4 separate regions of the Homo sapiens genome follow, and all the other regions are linked to region 2. The links are contacts of gene promoters, found by promoter capture Hi-C in blood cells and fetal thymus (Javierre and others, 2016). All regions are on one chromosome and are shown on one strand. The core of a region is centred on a gene start or on the middle of the fragment in contact, and the rest is flanking DNA. Distances in the headings are between cores, read along the strand shown. Region 1 has its middle 33 kb from the start of NUCB2. Region 2 holds the start of OTOG (otogelin). Region 3 overlaps SERGEF (secretion regulating guanine nucleotide exchange factor). Region 4 overlaps PIK3C2A (phosphatidylinositol-4-phosphate 3-kinase catalytic subunit type 2 alpha).

Region 1 (3,181 bases), core at 12-2,511, 300 kb after region 2:
CAGTGAGCTGAGATTGTACCACTGCACTCCAGCCTGGGTGACAGAGCGAGACTCCTGTCTCAAAAAAAAAAAAAAAAAAAAAAAAGAAGCTGAGCAGCAAAGGGAGAAATGCCCACTCTTACCACTTCCTTTGTAGTCCTTTCTCAAGGAGAAAGTGAAGCTTGGTGGTTAGGAGCATAGAATCAGGAGCAAACCGCCTAGGCTCTGCTCCTTACTAGCCATATGTCCTCAGGCAATTTACTTATCTCTCTGTGCCTCAGTTTCCTCATTTGTAAAATAGAGATAATAGGTTACTTACCATAGAGTTCTTAAAATGATTAAATGACTTAATATTTATTTGCAAGTACTTATAACAGTGCCTGGCACTACTAAGCGTTATATAAATATTACATAAATATAGAAATCATAGAAATTTTTAAATGAGTCATTTTGTCATGCAGTTTATCCCTTTTCTAGTAATATGTTCAGATACACTAATGTTAAATATATAATAACTTTAAAACTTTCTCAAAGGAAGAAGGGTGGGGAGGGATATAATATATTTAGAAAACACAGATGGGGTTTCTTTTCTCTACAGTTCCCTTCCTCATCCCCGAGTTGTGTGGAACTATGGTTGAGGATACCTGACATTTCTACTCATGTGCCTATGCACAGGACTGATTTATGTTTGGCTACTATTATAAGATCTCCTTCCATACCTGCCTTGTCTTCCGGAGATGCCCCTCCCTAATGCTTGAGCCAACTCCTTTGCCTCAGTCCTGCTCCCAGGCCCTACACTCATGGGATGATCTCCAAGGTGCAGAATACCTGCCTTGCTAACTACACAGATGGGCCAGGCATGGTCTCTGCTCACAGGTCACTCGTATACCAAGAGGATCAGTACTGCTTGGTCTTGAAAACAGGCATTTTTGCTGTGTATGAGAACTTGACCTGCTTTCATGTGGTTCCCTAGAAATAATTACATCCACACTTCTGACCACAATCAGTTACTTATGACTTATATTAAGCCACCCAGGGAAATAATCATTTCCTTAGAAGAAGTTATGTTATGACCAGCCTGGCCAACATGGTGAAACCCTGTCTCTACTAAAAGTACAAAAATTAGCTGGGCATGGTGGTGCATGCCTGTAATCCCAGCTACTCGGGAGGCTGAGGCAGGAGAATCATTTGAACCCAGGAGGCAGATGTTGCAGTGAGCTGAGATCGTGCCACTGCACTCCAGCCTGGGTGACAGAATGAGAACCTGTCTCAAAAAAAAAAAAAAAAAAAAAAAGAAAGAAGAAGTTATGTTAGCTTAATGTTTTATGTAGTTTATGTTTATTTTGGTTACAATTTCATACATATAGCAGGAAAGCTCATCTCTGGAAAGAATTTCAAGCCGCATGACATTATGGAAAATGCTCCTGTCCTGGAAGTCAGACACCTTGGAGTTTAATCCTAGCTCTGCTTCTGTGTAACCAGGGGAGAGTTGCTTCACCTCTTGGGTCCGCTCTTATTTTTCGATGCTCTTTTTGATGGTAAATAGTTTTTGATGCTCTCAAAATCAAAAGCAGGCTTTTACTGAATCAATGAAATGTGGGGACTAGGTACCAGCTAGTCCAATCCCTCATTTTTTTTTAACTCAATGTTTTGTTTTGTTTGTTTGTTTTTATTATTATTATACTTTAAGTTTTAGGGTACATATGCACAACGTGCAGGTTTGTTACATATGTATACATGTGCCATGTTGGTGTGCTGCACCCATTAACTCGTCATTTAACATTAGGTATATCTCCTAACACTATCCCTCCCCGCTCCCTCCACCCCACAACCGTCCCCAGTGTGCGATGTTCCCCTTCCTGTGTCCATGTGTTCTCATTGTTCAATTCCCACCTATGAGTGAGAACATGCGGTGTTTGGTTTTTTGTCCTTGCGGTAGTTTGCTGAGAATGATGGTTTCCAGCTTCATCCATGTCCCTACAAAGGACATGAATTCATCCTTTTTTATGGCTGCATAGTATTCCATGGTGTCTATGTGCCACATTTTCTTAATCCAGTCTATCATTGTGGCACTATTCACAATAGCAAAGACTTGGAACCAATCCCTCATTTTACAGGGAAGAAAAGGGAGGCTAATGTTGATAAACTGGTTCACCATGGTCAGACATCTAGCTGAAATCAAAGTGAAGACTATGTGATGAAGAATTATTCTTTGTTGCTTGCTAGGCCCCAAGCCATTGTGTGCCTGTTGGTTATTATGAAGCAGCCAACAATATTATGCTTAGCTTATTACACAGTTTTCCCCCTTTATTTAGACAGTTCCCTTTGAAGAAAAGAAAGCCCTTGGATTTGTTGTGATTTGCTTTGAGGGATTACAAGCTTTTATCTTAAGTGTTTTGTAATAATTAAAACTTTGAACAGCTTTAAGCATTATTTGGGGGATACAAAAAATTGAGTAAAACTTTCTGAGATGAAAATTTTCTGTTTTATAATTCAATAAGACATTTAGCTTGCAGGAAAAGGGAATATTAAAATGCCTTCATTTGGATTTAAGAATTATAACAGGATTTCCTTTGTGAGAGGAAAAACCACAGTGGCAAGTTTGAGGACTTGAAGGATTTTATTTTTGTAATTAAGTGATAGTTTATTAGCACAGTGGTAATTGTTTCTTCTGACACATTGTACTTTATTCTCATATAACACCATTCATCTAAAGATTACAGATGAATTTTAATCTTGTCTATAACTAAGTTTCACATAATCCATTCATTTTCTTTCTTTTTTAAATTATTTTTTATTTTTTAGACACTGTCGCTCTGTTGCCCCAGGCTGGAGTGCAGTGGCATGATCTCAGCCCACTGCAACCTCTCCCTCCAGGTTCAAGCAATTCTCCTGCCTCAGCCTCCCAAGTAGCTGGGATTAAAAGCATTTGCCGTGACGCCTGGCTAATTTTTGAATTTTTAGTAGAGACAGGGTTTCACTATGTCGGCCAGGCTGGTCTCAAACTCCTAACCTCAAGTGATCTGCCCGCCTCGGCCTCCCAAAGTGCTGGGATTACAGGCATGAGAAACCGCACCTGGCCAATCCATTCATTTTCATTTATCTCTCTCATTTTTTCAGATGAGCAAATATAAATTTTGAAAAATAAGATACTCTCAAATGCCCTGAATTGCCTGTCTCTTATTTCAGCAAATTCAAGTCT
Region 2 (3,046 bases), core at 27-2,526:
CGTCCATCTTTCTACTTTTACCTGCCAGAAGGGAGAGCTCAGCTCTCTCCTGAAAGAGCCCTGGTGCCCACCTCTCCTAAAAAAAAAAAAAAAAAAAAAAAAAAAAAAAAAAAAAAGAGTGGACTATAGACCCCCAAGAGATTAAAAAGAATAGAAGGGTTTTATGAACTTGCACACCTCAGACACATACCAGGAATCTGCTTGTTCCTTTCTGAACAACTCCAGAGACCCCTCCTGTAACCTACAGAGCTCCCTGCCAGCCTCAGATCCAGATAGACATGAGCTCCTGCTCAATGAAGCCCCCTCCCAAGACCTCCCTTACCTGGCCTCCCACGACTGTAGCCTTGTCCCCCATGGCAAGGGTCGCCTCCTGGTGGCTGCTGCTGGAGGAAACACGAGTCTGGCATGGATGGGGGGCTAGGATGGGTTATGCCTCCCCGCAGTCCCCTGGCCTATCCCACCCTAAGTGCTAAAGCCCTGGGGTCGCTGATGCCAGAAATACGGATGGGAGCTGTGGGTGGGGCCGCCACAGCTCACACCTACTCACCTGGGTTGCCCGGCTGGCTCTGGCTGTGGCTCTGCACTGCCCCACAGAACGGGTGCTGCGGCTGGGGAGGGGGATTATTCTCCACTCAAATTGTGCTTGTCTTTACTGGGGCCTCCCACCACCTGGCCCCCACTGCTAGAAAGCCTCTCCCACGCCACTGAGCATTCCCCCATTCTCCCTCCCTGCAGCCTTCTCAAATCCTTTCTCTCCCTTCCTGATGACCCTTCTCCAGCCAGGATCTCCCTGTTTACTCTCAGTCTTTGGCCCCCAGCTCTCTCTAGTTCCCCACCTCGGGTCTCTTCCACCCAGCCTAACTTTGGACTCTTTCCCCCGCGGTCATAGGCCTGCCTCTGTTGGCTTCGGGGTCCCTCCTCCCCTGACTGCTCCTCCTGGGTGTCCCTCTGCTCTCCCTCAAACCTCTCTTTCCTCCCTCTCTCCAACCTGCGCGGGCCCATTCCTCATTCCTTTAACGTTTCTCATTCCTCGAGCCCCCGACCTCCCTGAGTCCACAACCCTCTCACCGAGGCGCTGCACCCGCAGGGACTCGGCTGCCTGCTCACCCCAGGGCAGCCAGACACAAAGCAGCCAGCAGAGCGCAGACGCCAGGACTCCCATAGGGACACGAGGGGACCGGAGGACTTGAGCGCAGGGCCAGCCTCCCGAGGTGCCTCCCCGGGCTAAGGCAGGGTCACACCTCCACTCCGCAGCCGAGGTCCCTCTTGTTCTCATGCCCCAGGGCTCCCTCAGCCCCTCCTCCCAGGCTCTCAGCTCCTCCCCGAACTAGAGTGACAGGAGTACCCAGCTTATTACCATAATTTAGGCGCCTGTCCATAGCCTAGCCTCTGCTTTTCTTGGCCTGTGGCCACACCTCCCCAGGGGAGGCTGGATTCAGATTACTCAGCCCTAAATTGTCTAGGGAAGCATAGAGGCAGCCTATGCAACCTCCAGCTCCCCTTACCTGGGTCCTGGAAGCCCAATACCAGAGACGCAAGATGCAGGTATGAGTCTGGCCCTATCCTCTCCTTTTACAGAGGGCCATGCTGAGGCCCTGGGACATGCCACTCAGGGATCAGTGGTCAATAACAGAGCCTGCAGAGTCCTAGCCTATGTTCTCACCATGCCCCACCTCAGCTTCCACCTGGGTCTCCACATCCGTATCCTATGACCAGTTTTGAGCACCTCTAGGGAATGGATCATGCCTTAGTCCTCTGAATGCCCAGCACCAGCTCCTGCCCGAGCTCAGGAAATGACGATTGAATAATAAAAGTGTTTCATACTCCTATGTTATTGCCACCATCAAGGCCAAACTTTGACAAAACAACTTTATATGTGTGAACGAGGTCCACTGTCTGCCCAGGAGGAATTTTAAAATGGCAAAAACATGGGACTGAGCACCTGGGGAATCTGTACATCATTCACTTCGTCATCACTTAGGGAACACCAACTAGATGCTAGGTCTTACAGAGGATGATGATGATGGTGGTGGTGGTGGTCGTGGTGGTATTGGCCCCAGTAGACTTCTAGGCAAGGGTATAGATTTGAGATGCATTCATTCATTCATTCATTCATTCATTCACTCAACAAATTTGTTTGGCATTGATTCCATGCCATGCACTGTTCTAGGCATATAGTGGTAAATAAAGCAAACACAGCTATCTTCACACAGGAGGAAGCTGGGGGCACAGATAGGAAGATGAAGAGGAAAGAGCTAAGGATGGAGCCTTAAGGAATGCTGGTTAAGGAACAGGCAAAGACTGATTGTCTCCAAGGAAGCTTGAAACAAAAATTCATGAGAGAGGAGAACCAGGTCTCAATGCTATTCTCAAAACAAAGCAGGGGGCATTTTAAGGTGGAGGGAGTCTGTGGGGGTAATGGCCAATGTAAAATAAGGATTGGTGTGGCAGGTGAACAGCATTCCCCTGGATAAGGACATTCATTCACCTCTGCCAGGATTCTAAATACAAAATAAACAGCCATATGACATTCTTTTCCAATGTAGAGAATCAATGAAGTAAGTCGGAGGGGAATGCATTTTGTGTGGCCTTTTCTGGACCATTCAAAAATCCCACAAGTCTTTCCATTTTATCGCTGACTTAATAGTTAATGCTAAGGTGAGAAAACAGATCATATTTTAAGGTTCTTCTCCAAGAGGGATTTACATCTTAAACTAGGCAACAAAAATAGTGTGCTTGTAAAACTTCAGCTATTGGGGAGAGGGACGCAGAGGGGTGTTTAGGTGCCCCAGAGTTACAATTGTAAGTGGTTACCTGATGTAAGCTGCTGTCCATCTCCTTGCCCCTGCCCTTGACAGGGCACAAAGGGCTCAGGTGCCTCCCTGGGTTAAGTTCAGGCACAAGCCCCATACTTAGCCTCTGATTTACACATTTTTATCACCCCTCTCCTAGCCCCTCTTTCCTTTCATCTCTTTCCAGGCCTGGTTCATCATTGTCTTTGATGAATCTTTCCTTTCATTCCTTTCCAGGCCTGGTTCATCATTGT
Region 3 (3,375 bases), core at 145-2,644, 430 kb before region 2:
TACCCACCAGCCCTAAGCATTGTGGCAAAGTGAAACCGTGTACTGGCCTGGGAACCAGGCAGCTCTGTGATCTTATGCAGGTTACCTTCTGTCTTTGAGAAGGGAGGTCATGTTCTCAGCTGCAGCTGTGTCATCTCTGCTAGAGAGATGAAGCGTTATCATTATATTTGGATTTTGTGTTTGGCTGTGAATACCCATTGATCTGTGGTCTAGAGAAGTGTAGCATGTGTGCACCTGAAGCAGAAGCAGGAGTCACCCTCTGAAGTGGGTGTATTCGACAAGGGGCTGGGCCTGCAGGGCCACCAGATGGCAGCAGTAGGCAGCCAGCTAGCCTTGGGATGAGGCTGGTAGAGTCATCATTCGGAATTAGTAAGGTCAGAGCTGAAAGGGCCCCTGGAGGTCACCCAGGCCTTCCCTGTTTTTGTATGGATGGGAGAACCTAGGCCCAGAAAGGGAAAGGGTCTTGCATAAGGACACACCCTGAGTTAATAGCTGATAGTCCTTGCTCTTAACAGGAACTGATATGGATCTGACCTCTAGCTGGCTGCCCCATGGAGATCCAGGGGACAAGGGCCAGTGAGCCAGCTGTGGGAGAGGACCTGGCAGTGGCAGTTAACTGTCTGCCTTTTTCCTGATTTCTTCAAGGGCCTGGTCTTAATGATTTTTCACCTTCTCACTCACAGCAAAAGCAATGTGCACATCTTTTCTGCTCGCCTCTGCCCTGTCCAGTTCTCCTCCTCAGTTCTCTGGACCAAGGCTTCCCATCACACTGTGCAATGGATAGAATTAGGGGTCATCTCTTAAGTCCTATACCCCACAGATGGGCAGGCCCAGGGCCTTGCCAGAGACATGCTGAAGACATGAGTTAGCACAATTGGTTGAATAAGAACATTTTTTTTTTTTTAATTTCCAAGGGGATCAGGTTAGGGCAGGGAGCCAGTGTTTGCCAAGTACTTACTATGTACTAGGTGCTCTGCCAGGTACTGCTCTACAGCCTGAGGGTAATACTGCTGTAGCCCCTTAAGGTAGGGTTCATTTCCCTTCATTCTAGGTGAGGATTGAGGCTCAGAGAGGCTAAGTGGCTTGTATAAAGTACCATAGCTAGTTAGAAAGCAAAGCAGACACTTGAATCCTGCTGTGTTTGATATCAAAGCTTATTTTATTTCATCATGCCACTTCCTCTCAAGGTGACCTTATGGGAAATGTAGCAATTGACTATCTTATTCCATTCAGGCTGCTATACCAAGTGATATAGACTGGGTGGCTTATAAACAATAGAAACCTATGTCTTACAGTTCTGGAGGCTGGGAAGTCCTAATCAAAATACCAGAAGATTTGGTGTCTGGTGATGACCTGCCTCCTGGTTCATAGACTCTCACCTTTTTGCTGTGCCTCACATGGCAGAAGAAGTAAAGGAGCTCTCTGGGGTTTCTTTTATAAGGCCAATGATCCCATTCATGAGGGCCCTACCTTCATGACCTCATCACCTCCCACAGGCCTTGTCTCCATAATATTAAGGGTTAGGATTTCAACATATGAATTTGATGGGGACACAACCATTCAGTCTGTAGCAGCCCTTTAGGCTTTAGGGAGGGGGCAACAGATATTTTGTCTCTCCTTCCTGGAGAAAGCTTCTGGGGGAGTTATGGTGGTGAACTGCCAGAGGGAGGAGGCCTTTGAAGCAGGAAAGGGCAGGTATTTATTGGAGCAGGTTAGGGAGTGGTGGCTGGTGGTATAAAGCCCACTGAGAAATGGTTAAATACCTTTCCCCTCTGTGCCTGTGTTCTAGCAGTTCTTTCTTCCAGGAATGCTCGTCTCTGTGATTCCTGCATAGCTACTGCCTCACTTCCATTGGTTCTTGTCCAAATGTCACCTCTTACACTCTATTCCCTTCACTGTGTTATTTTTCATTATAGCAGTTTTCATTGCCTGAAACCATAGTGTCATTATATGTTTACTTATTTGTTGTCATTCTCTCCTAACCGAATGTGAGCCCCACAAGGTTAGGGACTTGGTCTGCTTTATTCATCCCTGGATTTCTCCAACTATAGACGAGAGACTCGAGTGCTGGTGGCATGGGATGGGTAGAACTTTTGGATGTGGAAGTGATGCTATTTCCAATGGCTGTGTTCAGGAGATACAGCCTGTAGCTGGCCCTGCCCTCTTCCTACCTTCTTGGAGAAGCCCAGGCCACAGAGCCTCAGCTCCCTGAGGCTGACAGTGATGCCTGATGCCCCAGCGTTTTAAGACCAGCTTTGCTCCTGCCTATCTGCAAGGCCTTGCCTTGAGACCTTGGCTTCCCCATCTGTCCATAGTGAGTGGGGTGACCAGCCATGCTGCAAGCTCACCAGATGGTTCTGGGAAGGGTGTAGAGGTCCCTGGCAGAGAGCTCAGTTTCCATTCAAAGAATCTTCCTCTTTCCTGATGGAGATTGATTTGTTCCAGGAGCTCTCTAAAAGTAAGCATTTAGTTACTGGCCTGTAATTTTGCCATCATTTTTAGGTTTTTGGCAGATGGCACTCTGCTTGCCCTTTCTCAGGGGACCTTGCCTATCCCATGGGTGCTCTCAATAATCACAGTGACAGCCAGGCACGGTGGCTCACTCATGTAATCCCAGCACTTTGGGAGGCCAAGGCGGGTGGATCACGAGGTCAGGAGTTTGAGACCAGCCTGGCCAATATGGTGAAATCCCATCTCTGCTAAAAAAAAAAAAAAAAAAAAAAAATGAAAATTAGCCGAGGTGGTGGTGCATGCCTGTAGTCCCATCTACTCGGGAGGCTGAGGCAAGAGAATCACTTGAACCCTGGAGGCAGAGGTTGCAGAGAGCCAAGATCACACCACTGCACTCTAGCCTGGGCGACAGAGTGAGTCTCCGTCTCAAAAATAAATAAATAAATAATCATAGACCAGTACCTTAAAGTGCTCTCAATGTGAGCCAAGGTGAAAGCAGCCCATTCTGAGGAATATTGGAGGAATCAACTCTTGCCCAATCAGAGAGTGACTTTTTACCTCAGGAGGAAGCTTAATGTGGCCAAAAGAACCCTGAAGAGCTAGGTGTAAGTTCTGATTTGGCTATTTGTTGGCTGTGTGATCTTGGGCAAGTCATTGGGCCTGAACTTCCTCACCTGTAAAATGAGGGCCTTAATTCCTAATTTGTCTGCTTCACAGGGGTGTCTTATATCCTTTACTCATTCACAATTCCTCCCTTTATTCCTTCACTCATTTGTTCAACAAATATTTGTTGCATAGGCAGAAGTGAGGGGAGGGCATTCCAAACAGAAGGAATACTGCGAAAAAATCTATAGAAGTGGGAAGTGCTCTGTGGTGTAGTTTGCTTGACCTGGGCCAGATGATAAGACATTGGGAACTTTTGGG
Region 4 (3,353 bases), core at 655-3,154, 390 kb after region 2:
AGTGCTGGGATGACAGATGTGAGCCACTGCGCCCGGCCCAGAATGGATTTTTGTATGAAAAAGTTCTAAGCCTTCTTGTTAGTGCTAAGATTTCATTTTGTTTGTGTACAGGAAGATAAAGTTTGGTTTTATGTAGACCAAAATAGGGAGATAAACTGAACACTGGTAATAGGCTGACTTTGGAAATCCATGGCACAATTCATTGGCACGGAGCTTTTAATTTTTCACACACCATTCATCTCTACTTACAAACTTTTCCCTGATATTTTTTATTGGAAAATAATATTGCAATGCCTATTCTTTATAATTACTTCACATGCTTAAGTGTTCATTTCCTGTAAGAATTTTGTGCTTTGTGGTAAAAACTCAACACAGAGGGTATTTTTCTTCTCACTCAGCAAGCTTACTTCCTGTTTCCATCTAGTGTCCTTTGTTTTATTAATAATAACCTAAATACATTAGTTCCAATTTTTTGTGACCAAAACCAGTAAAAGACATAATACTTAAAACTGTCTTCTGGAAATTTAAGTTTAAATCAGGCTTTTAGTTAATAGCTGTGAATTTAACTACTTTGAGCAGATTTCAAAGAATTTTATAATAGATCAAATTATTGTCATAGAGGTGGCTTTGCAAAGTTCTTTGGTTGTAAACTCTTTCTAAAAGTTAATTGTATTAACATTTTAAACATATCCCCATTGGCAAAATGTCTATTATTAATTTTAAAGAAGAGCAAAAGTTAAACAAAATGTGATTTTCATAGTCTGACTGAGTATATTTGAACAGTAAATATAAGTTTCTTTGGGAAAAAGTCCAATTAAGGATGTAACCAACTTTCTTCTGAAAAGTAATATGTATTTAATGTTTAAAGTGCATTTATTGAAAACTTGGTGTTGTGTTCCATATAATTTCTGGGTAATGTGGCATGAACCTTGAACTTGTATAGGTATAAATCTTCCCCATATTCTTGTAACTACTTTACAGAGTATTAATGATAAATTTTTGTGAATTATTTTAAACCTTCACCACTTTCCTTAAACCTCCAAACTCACCTCTGCCAACTCTCTACCATTTTTTTTCTTTTAAATTGAGGTCAAGGCCATCCATGTGTGAACTGCTCACCTCACATTTCCCTCATCTTTCTGGTTTGAAAGGAAGAGATGTTCCTTCCCTTTTCCAAAACTTAACTGTTTTTTTTGTTCCTGTTTGTTCCTGTCTTCCCCAAAGTTATTACTGTTTGTTTGTTTGTTTTGTTTTGGTTTGGTTTTGTTAAGGCAGGGTCTTGCTCTGTCATCCAGGCTAGAGTGTAATGGTGCAACCTCGGCTAACTGCAACCTCTGTCTCCTGGGTTCGAGCCATCCTCCTGCCTCAACCTCCTGAGTAGCTGGGACTACAGGGGCATGCCATCATACCTAGCTAAGTTTTGTATATTGTGTAGAGATGGGGTTTCACTATGTTGCCTAGGCTGGTCTCCATCTCCTGGACTAGAGCTATCCACCTGCCTCCCAAAGTGCTAGGATTACAGATATGAGCTACCACACCTGTCCTTAAAGTTATTACTCTTTAAAAAGGAATTTGTACTCACTGCCTTTCCAGTCTCTTGCTCTCCTTCTGTTATTCCCATTATGTTATAGAATTGCCAATCCCTCGACCATATTCACCATTTAGCCCTTTTGCTTATTTTTTAAAAATTGACTACATCCTTTTCTTGAAACTTCTGTTGCCCTGGGTAAATCTACTTCCTATTTTTCTTCCTGTGATTTTTGACTCCTTTTTCTTTGTCTAGCCTTTAAACATAGGCATTCCTCCAAAGGTTTTGTTCTTGGTTGTTTTTAATAATGCTTTACTTGTTTTCCCTTGGCCAGTGCTTTATTCTTGAGGCTCCAATTTACTTAAATTGAAAGCTACTGATCTAGACCCTTGTAGTAATGTGACTCCTTGGCTGTCTATGCTCGAGATGCTGTGATGGTTAATTTTATGTTTCAGCTTGACTAGGCCATGAGGTGTCCAGATATCTGATCAGACATTATTCTGGGTATTTCTATGAGCGTGTTTTTGGGTCAGATTAATGTTTGAATTGGTCAGCTGGATAAAGCAAATTCCCTGCTTAATGTGAGTGAGCCTCATCCAATTAGTTGAAGGCCTGCAGAATGACCCTCCCAAAAGTAAGGGGGAAACTCCTCCTGCTTGACTGCTTTGAAGCTGGAACATCAATTTTTTTCCTACCTTTGGACTAAAACAGAAGCATTGGCCCTTCCTGCGTTCTGCAACTGCACCATTGCTCTCCTTTGTCTCCAGCTTGCCAGCTGCAGATCTGGAGACTTGTCAGCTCATAATTGCATAAGCCATTCCATATATACGAAAATAAAGAGATGTCCCAGTTCTGTGCCTCACAGATACAGGCCCTTATGTCTCCTTTAGCTTCCCAAAGAGACTGTTTCCTCTTAATGGAGCTTGACCCAAAGACTACTGACTGAGAATTTGCTGTCTCAGTGATCCTGATGGATGCTGACAGCAGTTAACAGAGAGAGTGAGTTCCCTGTAAAAAATTACAGAAATTGGATGATCACTAAATCTTTGTTTCTAGCTCTGGAATAGAATATTTCTGGAGTAGAACATTTCTAGACGATGACCTAAACATCTACATGGATTTTCAAACACAACATATTTACTAGAGAACTTTGTATCTTCCCCTGCAAACTTCTTTCTTTGTTCCAGGTATTGGCTAATGCATTGGCAGTGTTTTCTTATTGATTATCATATATCTCTTTCATTTGTTAAAAAATGTGTGTGGTTATACAGTGTGAGGATTGCACATACTAATCATTTGTGGACTTCACCATTAAAGAACTTGGGCTAGAAAGGGGAGACAAGATGTGAATGTGTATAAATGCAGTACAAAATAGAAAGTCTTGAGTGCCACAGAAGAAAAGTCTGTGCAAGATCCATGGAGAAAAGAGATGATTTGATGCTTTGGTTTGTTTGTGTGGAGTTTGGAAGTGGGGTGGGAGTATGGGTGAAGGGAATAGGTGTAAAATATATGTATTTTTTATTCCAGAAAGAGCAGAGGGAAAAACCCAAAACTGTTAATGTTTGAGGTGAAATATTGGCAGCCTAGCTATTTTTTACCCTTTACAGACTTTAACATTTGAGTTAACTTTCCAGATTCTATTATTACCTTGATGTGTGACTAGATAATTATTATATTCAGTTTTTGTTAATTCAAACTCGTAACTTGAATAAAAGGAAAGACCTAATTCACGAGAGACACAGCAAAAAATACAACTATTATTATTTTTTTTAAATCCTAAAATGCCACCTAAGGAGATTCAGAATCTGTTTTTAAAATAAGTAAA

The links. Contacts are between HindIII fragments. The CHiCAGO score rates a contact against its expected background, and 5 or more counts as called.
Region 1: a contact is called between a fragment that was not itself captured here and the fragment with the promoter of OTOG in region 2, in 1 of 17 cell types (M2 macrophages). The highest score is 5.1, in M2 macrophages.
Region 3: a contact is called between a fragment that was not itself captured here and the fragment with the promoter of OTOG in region 2, in 2 of 17 cell types (M1 macrophages and M2 macrophages). The highest score is 5.6, in M1 macrophages.
Region 4: a contact is called between a fragment that was not itself captured here and the fragment with the promoter of OTOG in region 2, in 1 of 17 cell types (naive CD4 T cells). The highest score is 5.1, in naive CD4 T cells.

What each region holds. Positions count from the first base shown.
Region 1 is chr11:17,241,969-17,245,149 of GRCh38, reverse strand. No RefSeq gene overlaps it. Among named protein-coding and RNA genes, the nearest start is that of NUCB2, 33 kb to the left of the region's middle. The HindIII fragment of the contact is 2,198 bases long and covers 163-2,360 here.
Region 2 is chr11:17,545,489-17,548,534 of GRCh38, reverse strand. OTOG (otogelin) reads right to left here and starts at 1,276. Exons shown (of 56, transcript NM_001292063.2): 1 at 1,069-1,276; 2 at 548-608; 3 at 323-383. The coding sequence starts at 1,162. The HindIII fragment of the contact is 7,774 bases long and covers 1-2,322 here.
Region 3 is chr11:17,975,808-17,979,182 of GRCh38, reverse strand. All of the region lies in intron 8 of SERGEF (secretion regulating guanine nucleotide exchange factor), which reads left to right. Among named protein-coding and RNA genes, the nearest start is that of SERGEF, 36 kb to the left of the region's middle. The HindIII fragment of the contact is 478 bases long and covers 1,156-1,633 here.
Region 4 is chr11:17,158,739-17,162,091 of GRCh38, reverse strand. All of the region lies in intron 2 of PIK3C2A (phosphatidylinositol-4-phosphate 3-kinase catalytic subunit type 2 alpha), which reads left to right. Among named protein-coding and RNA genes, the nearest start is that of PIK3C2A, 48 kb to the left of the region's middle. The HindIII fragment of the contact is 3,000 bases long and covers 405-3,353 here.